Linked DNA regions of Homo sapiens: region 2 is linked to region 1. Evidence: promoter capture Hi-C in human tissues and cell types (Jung and others, 2019). All regions are on one chromosome and are shown on one strand. The core of a region is centred on a gene start or on the middle of the fragment in contact, and the rest is flanking DNA. Distances in the headings are between cores, read along the strand shown.

What was found. The method cuts DNA at HindIII sites, captures the fragments that hold promoters and counts their contacts. A contact is called where the count stands out against the background at its distance.
Region 2: a fragment that was not itself captured here is called in contact with the fragment with the promoter of HSPB8 in region 1 in 1 of the 25 tissues and cell types used here (IMR-90 fibroblasts).

The regions. Positions count from the first base shown.
Region 1 is chr12:119,177,135-119,180,593 of GRCh38, forward strand. HSPB8 (heat shock protein family B (small) member 8) reads left to right here and starts at 1,797. Exons shown (of 3, transcript NM_014365.3): 1 at 1,797-2,545. The coding sequence starts at 2,179. RefSeq lists enhancers at 1-220, 1,400-2,149. The HindIII fragment of the contact is 13,927 bases long and covers 1-3,459 here.
Region 2 is chr12:118,386,914-118,390,372 of GRCh38, forward strand. SUDS3 (SIN3A corepressor complex component SDS3) reads left to right here. Exons shown (of 12, transcript NM_022491.3): 5 at 3,014-3,033. Among named protein-coding and RNA genes, the nearest start is that of SUDS3, 12 kb to the left of the region's middle. The HindIII fragment of the contact is 6,770 bases long and covers 1-3,459 here.

The sequences.
Region 1 (3,459 bases), core at 547-3,046:
AGCCGAAGAGGCCTCCAAGCCAAAGGAGGATTTGTAAATTCATTCTTCCAGCTGCATGGGAAGAGCAGGAAAGTCTAGATTTGGGGCTTTGAGTTTCAGACCAGACCTCCTGCCTGAGTGTAACATCTTTCAATAATTATCAGTATTAACAGTCATAATAATAATAGAAGCTACTATTCATGAACACTTCTATGGTAGTTTTCTCATCTGTAAAATGGGATAATACTGGTACTCTTACCTCACAGGATTGCTGGTGAGGGTTAAATGAATTCATATTTATAAAGCCCATAGAGCAGGGCCTGGCATATAGCAAACATTATGTAATTGATAACTCAAAATTGAAAATACAAGGAGAAAGAGAATTACCTCATGTATTCTTCATGGTACATCTGTGAGTTGGCTACTGTTATGTCCGTTTATAAGGAGGAAAACTAACAACCTGGAGGTGCCTGGGAATAATGTTACTGCCTATAAAGATGCTTTGATTGACCAAACATTAATCGGATTTCTGAATCTTCTCCTAAGCCCATCAGTGAGGTTCCTTATAAAAATTCAGTTTTGGGCCAGGCGAGGTGGCTCACGTCTGTAATCCCAGCACTTTGGGAGGTGGAGGCAGGTGGATCATGAGGTCAGGAGTTCAAGACCAGCCTGGCCAAGATGGTGAAATCCAACTCTACTAAAAAATACAAAAATTAGCCGGGCACGATGGCGGGTGCCTATAATCCCAGCTACTCGGGAGTCTGAGGCAGAAGAATCGCTTGAACCTGGAAGGCGGAGGTTGCAGTGAGCGGAGATGGCGCAACTGCGCTCTAGCCTGGGGGACAGAGTGAGACTCTGTCTCAAAAAAAAAAAAGAAAAGAAAGAAAGAAAAATTCAGTTTTGGCATGAACTCTGCTAAGTCTGTTTAGTAGCAACCACCCATCTTCGATTTCTGATCACCCTCGATATCTGATTAGTTTCCTCATCCTCCGCGGTCCCCCAGGTGATGTCTGAGCACCCTGGCCTGTCTTCAGCAAGAATCCTCTTAGGTTAGCTGAGCCCGAATCCCTCTGACTCCTGGACTTCCCTCCTAGTAAATTTCCATTCGCTGACCCCCCACCTGCTTCTTGGCTACAAATTCACACTTACCCATGACCTACTGGGAATCAAGTCTAATCTTTCTCCCTCACTGCAAAATCCCATTGCAGGGGTCCCTACATCTATGGAGAAAGTTTCCCTGCCCAGTAAAGTCTTGCTTGTCATACTTTAACAAGCGTCATATGAATATATATATACACATTAAAAAAATTTTTTTTTTCCTTTACCAATCTCCCCAGAGGGCATTGAGGCTCTAGGAGCTTGGCCATCTTGTAAGTGGGGATTGCAACCCAGGGCCATCCTTCAAATCCACTGGGCTCCTGTCTCTCTCTTCCCTTTCTGCAGGTCCCCAGGGGAAAGGCAGGATACGACACGCTCTAGGGAAGGTATTTCCAGAGGGTGACCTGAGCCCTCAGCCAGGCTCGGGGTTATTAATAGCCAGGCCTTAGTGCCCCGCTCGGGGAGGGCGGCTCCAGCTCCTGGAGCAAGAGGAGGGCGGAGCTGAGCGGAGTGGCCAGGGGAGGAGAGAGTGTCCGGAGAGGCCGGCTGAACTTGGACGCGGCCCCTCCCAGCTCCCCCCACAGCCCAGCTGTTCCCTCCGCGGATTCTCCGGGGCTGGTTCATCACCTCCGAATATTCCTGTGACAGGAGACGCTTGCAAAACCCGCCTCCAGCCTCCAGCAGCAAATAAATAGAAGGCTTGCAGCCCAGAAGGAGCCAGAAGAAGTTTCTAGGCGCGCGTGCCCTGGGTTTATTAAGCTCCTGGCTCCGCTCTAGACCTCAGCGGTTCTGGCTGCCAGCCTGGGCAGCCTGGGAAGCCTGGGAGGACGGTGGCTTGCCGGTCTGTCGTGAGGCAGTGCGGACGGGGACCCTCTGGGATTCTGCTGGATCTGCCCCGGGGGTTACCTTTGGGGGCTGGGACCCCAGTCGAGGGGACACAACCGTCCCTGGCAGTGGTTGGTTCTGCTTCTCCCTGCAGAAAAGCAGCATTTTCGGAAGCTGAAGAATAAGCTAGCCCAGCCACACCACCTTGTTGTGTGACCTTGGGCAGGTGGTTCTGTCTCTCTGAGCCTCTGTTTCTCTCTGAGCTGAGCAGCCACCATGGCTGACGGTCAGATGCCCTTCTCCTGCCACTACCCAAGCCGCCTGCGCCGAGACCCCTTCCGGGACTCTCCCCTCTCCTCTCGCCTGCTGGATGATGGCTTTGGCATGGACCCCTTCCCAGACGACTTGACAGCCTCTTGGCCCGACTGGGCTCTGCCTCGTCTCTCCTCCGCCTGGCCAGGCACCCTAAGGTCGGGCATGGTGCCCCGGGGCCCCACTGCCACCGCCAGGTTTGGGGTGCCTGCCGAGGGCAGGACCCCCCCACCCTTCCCTGGGGAGCCCTGGAAAGTGTGTGTGAATGTGCACAGCTTCAAGCCAGAGGAGTTGATGGTGAAGACCAAAGATGGATACGTGGAGGTGTCTGGTAAGTCAGGGGCAGGAGGGAGAGAGAATGGGGAGGCCGGGATGTAGCCCTCAGCCCTGGGAATAGCCAGAGAAAGTTTCCTGGGAGCTGACGTTGGGACAGTGTGACACAGGTGACCTCAGGGCTCAGGAATGCAGCCTGCAAAGTTATCTTTACGGAAAACTTCTCTCCCGGCTCCCAGCAGAGATCTTAACCTGCCTGACTCAGCTATTGGGGCCTCTGGGTGCTCATCAATCATGGTACAGACAGGAAAATAGAAACCATGTTGGATATTTTGACAGAGGGCATTTAATATAAAGAATAGGTTAAGCAGATATCAAAGAATTAAAAAACAAAGAAGAAACGGGATTTTGTGCACTCCAGCATCATAACAGAGTCTAGAAGTGCACGTTAAGGCTGAACAATGATAGTGTTAATAACCGCAACTGGTTTCCGGTGAAACACCTCTCCTTGTCCCAGACAGGGAAACTGAGGCTTACCAGTAATTGTAGTAACACTAACTGGTAACTCTGAGTGCTAACTATTCGCTCAGCACTTTGCTAACTGCTGTTGCCTATAATATCTCAGCTAATACCACAACCAGAGGAGGTGGGTACTGTTTATCTTCTTTTTTCAGATGAGGAAACTGAGGCACGGAGAGATTAAAGTAACTTGTTCAAGGCCACCAAGGAGTCAGACCCAGGTTGTCTGGGAATTAGGAGGCCAGAAAGAAGAAGTGATGATTTACTGAGCACCTACTAGGTGCCAAGGGTGGGCTGACATTCTTATACTTCTCCAAAATCATCCTCAGTCCACTCCAGGGTAGCAGGGTAGGCCCATCTTGCAGCTGAGGAGGCTGAGGCCTAGGTGGGACTCGTTCACAGTCATGCCATGAGTCAGCAATAGGAGTGGAGTAGGGACTGGGCCTATGCACA
Region 2 (3,459 bases), core at 622-3,121, 790 kb before region 1:
GAATTTTTAACGCTCATCATCAGCCAGCAGTTTGGGTGCCAGCAGAGTCCTTGTTCCTGCGATGGTAGAAGTAATGATGGGTTTTAAAATGAGGGTTGGGTGCCACTCCTCATGCTGCTGTCATCTTTCATTCTGGGCCAGTGACTCTCCAACGCTTCACTGTGTCTCCTCAGTGAGAAGCTGCCCAGTGCACACCAACAGAGAGAAAAGGGGTTGAAGTGTGGGTGGGCGCTGAGAAAGTGGAGCCCCAGCTATTAGCTGTCTGCCTTTCCACCTTCTACCTCTCCCTGCTGTTACCCCCTTTCTACTCTGAGTTCCTGAAGCACCTCCTTGAGATGTCTTGAAAATCCTCAACCGGTTGCTCTTCCTAGACTTCCCTTTTAGCAGATAAAGGAGGTGGCATTTGTGGAAGGAGGTCCTGCCTCCTCACTTTAGATCTGATCCTTTAAGCAGAATATTTGCTCTTGAAACCTCAATTTCTCCATCTGTAGAGGGGAATATTAATACCTCATGGAACTGGCATAAGATGGAAGTAAGGAAAGAAAATGGATGTGAGTCATATTTCTGAAGTTAGAACAGCAGAGTGAGTATTGAGTTGTTTTTCTTCATTCTGCTCAGACTCTCAATCATGTCCTCATGTGTTCTTTTTTTTTTTTGAGACAGAGTCTCACTCTGTCACCCAGGCTGGAGTGTGGTGGCGCTATCTCAGCTCACTGCAACCTCCACCTCCTGGGTTCAAGCGATTCTCATGCCTCAGCCTCCTGAGTAGCTGGAATTACAGGCGCCTGCCACCACACCTGGCTAATTTTGTATTTTTAGTAGAGATAGGTTTTCACCATGTTGGCCAGGCTGCTCTCAAACTCCTGACCTCAGGTGATCCGCCCGGCTCGCCTTGGCCTCCCAAAGTGCTGGGGTTACAGGTGTGAGCCAACGTGCCCGGCCCTCATGTGTTCTTTCACATTTCTCTCTCCTAGGTAAAAATGCAGAAGAGCTCCTAAATCAGTCACGACTTGAGCTTTAAAAAGCACATTCTTTTCAGAGATGATCCACCTGCTTTAGTGGTGTCTGGCTGCTTTAACTGAAACAACTGCCACCTCTAAGTGCTAATTGTCATTTTGACTTGGTGCAAGGCATGATTTCTCGGAATGGCACAGGACTTCAGCTGTCTGGCCCACTTGTGCATGGTACAGATCTGAAGCTGTTATAGGAATGATCACATTGGGTTGGGTGTGCCTGGGTTCCTATGCCCAGCAATTCCCAGTGCCAAAGTGGGTAGGACTTCTGGGGGCTAAAAAATAATGAGTGGCTTGTCCCTTTCCTCAGTTAATTTTCTCTGTCAACAACTGTTAACATCTGGGCTTTTAATCTGGGGTTCCTAGAACTGTCAGAATTCTGTGGAGTTTGTATATGTGCTTTGTTCTGGGGAAGGGGTCCATAGCATTTGCCAGGTTTGCAAAGGGGCCCCTGGTAGACTGAGAATAGCACACCCTGGAGAATCTTTGTGGACTGTACGCACAGCCCCCTGTCACCCAGGAAAGAGTAGAAGCCATGGAGCAATTTTGCTTCAAGTTGCGGGTTTGTAGACAGGTTTGTGCTCTATTGTAAATCTAGTGGTGAGGGGAGCTGCTAGGTAACAGTTACTAATCATCCGGCACATGGTAGGTGCTAACTAAGTTGTTGAGTGCTGTTAGATGGGTGCTTTAAGGCATCTGAAGGGCATGATGTGTGAAGAGTCAGCAGGAAAGGCCTCAGGAGGGGGCTGCATTCAGTCAGGAACTTGGGAATGTGAATAGGAGGTCAGAGGGCATTGCAGGGACAGACAGCGTGAGCAGAGCTTGGTGGCCTGACAGTGAAGCCCCAGGTGTCCCTGGAGCCTCTGTCCTATGGATTATCTGTGGAGGTCCTTCCTTACCACATATAGCCCTTCATATAGTGCTTTAAAAAGGAGGTCCTGGCCGTAGGCAGTGGCTCACGCCTGTAATCCCAGCACTCTGGGAGGCTGAGGCTGGCGCATCACCTGAGGTCAAAATTTCAAGACCCTCCTGGCCAACATGGTGAAACCCCGTCTCTACTAAAAATACAAAAATCAGCCAGGTGTGGTGGTTTGCGCCTTTAATCCTAGCTACTTGGGAGGCTGAGGCAGTAGAATTGCTTGAACCCAGGAGGTGGAAGTTGCTGTGAGTCGAGATCATGCCACTGCACTCCAGTCTGGGTGACAGAGCCAGACTCTGTCTCAAAAAAACCAGAACCCCCCAGAAAACCAGGGGTCTCCATCCTTCAGGCTGCGGACCACTGGGCTGCTTTCCCCCACCTGCCGCCTGCCCCCCTACCCTGCCCCAGCCCGTGGGAGAATTGTCTTCCACCGAACTGGTCCCTGGTGCCAAAAAGGTTGGAGACCACTGCTTTAAAACATCACATCCACTCTGTTTCTGGAGTAATTGCATTATTTCTTCTTGACCCATCCTGCCACTGTGGAGACTGTTGGCGGGTGGACTGAGTGAAAGATGGGATAAGTTTATTTTGCCAGGGGAGTTTGGTTCCTGCTGCACGTTTTTTGCCCTCAGGCAGAACTGCCACAGCTGATATGTTCAGGGCCACATTTTTTTTTTTTTTTTTGAGACCAGGTTTCGCTCTGTCACCCAGGCTGTAGTACAGTGGCACAATCTCAGCTTACTGCAACCTCTGCCGCTCAGGTTCAAGTGAGTCTCCTACCTGCCTCAGCCTCTCGAGTAGTTGGGATTACAGGCGCCTGCCACCATGCCTGGCTAATTTTTATATTTTTAGTAGAGATGGGGTTTCGCCATGTTGGCAGGCTGGCAGGGTCACATTTTAACTAGACTTGAGTACTTGTCATGTCCTTTCCCTTCGTGTATATCAACATTTCACTGATGAAAACATTTGCTTTGTAACATGCTTTCAGAAAGCAATTACTGCTTCTAAATGAATGCTAACATCACTGTCTAGAAAGGTGGCACAGCCTAGCAAATCTAATTGCACTTTTTATCTCTTGCAGAACTCTTCCTCCAGCTGGAAGTAAGTACCACGGATCTTCTGGGTTTGCAGGCCCTGTCTGAGACTGGAATCTTGCAGTCCTGATCTGGTGGCTTTTCCTTCTATCACCAAGTAGATAGTTTGGAAGCCTTCACCACTGTTCTGTTTGACTTAAGGACATTTGGTCTCAGCTCAGACATCCTGTCTGGTCATTTGTTGTTGCGCAGCCTCTGCTTATCACAGGGGAATAAGGAATACTCATCCCTAACTGCTTATTGACTTCTATCCCGTGTTAGAGCTGTTTGGAAGTCTCTGAGTTATAACGGCCTAATAGTTTGATATTGGTCCTTGAAGCAGTTCAATCTCTGAATTGGCTCAGCAGTTCTGTTTTACAGCTGCAACTCTCTGGGCCAGTAAAAAAAGACAGATTTCTAATTTTTCCTTTCATTCCATGGACACCTGAGTGCT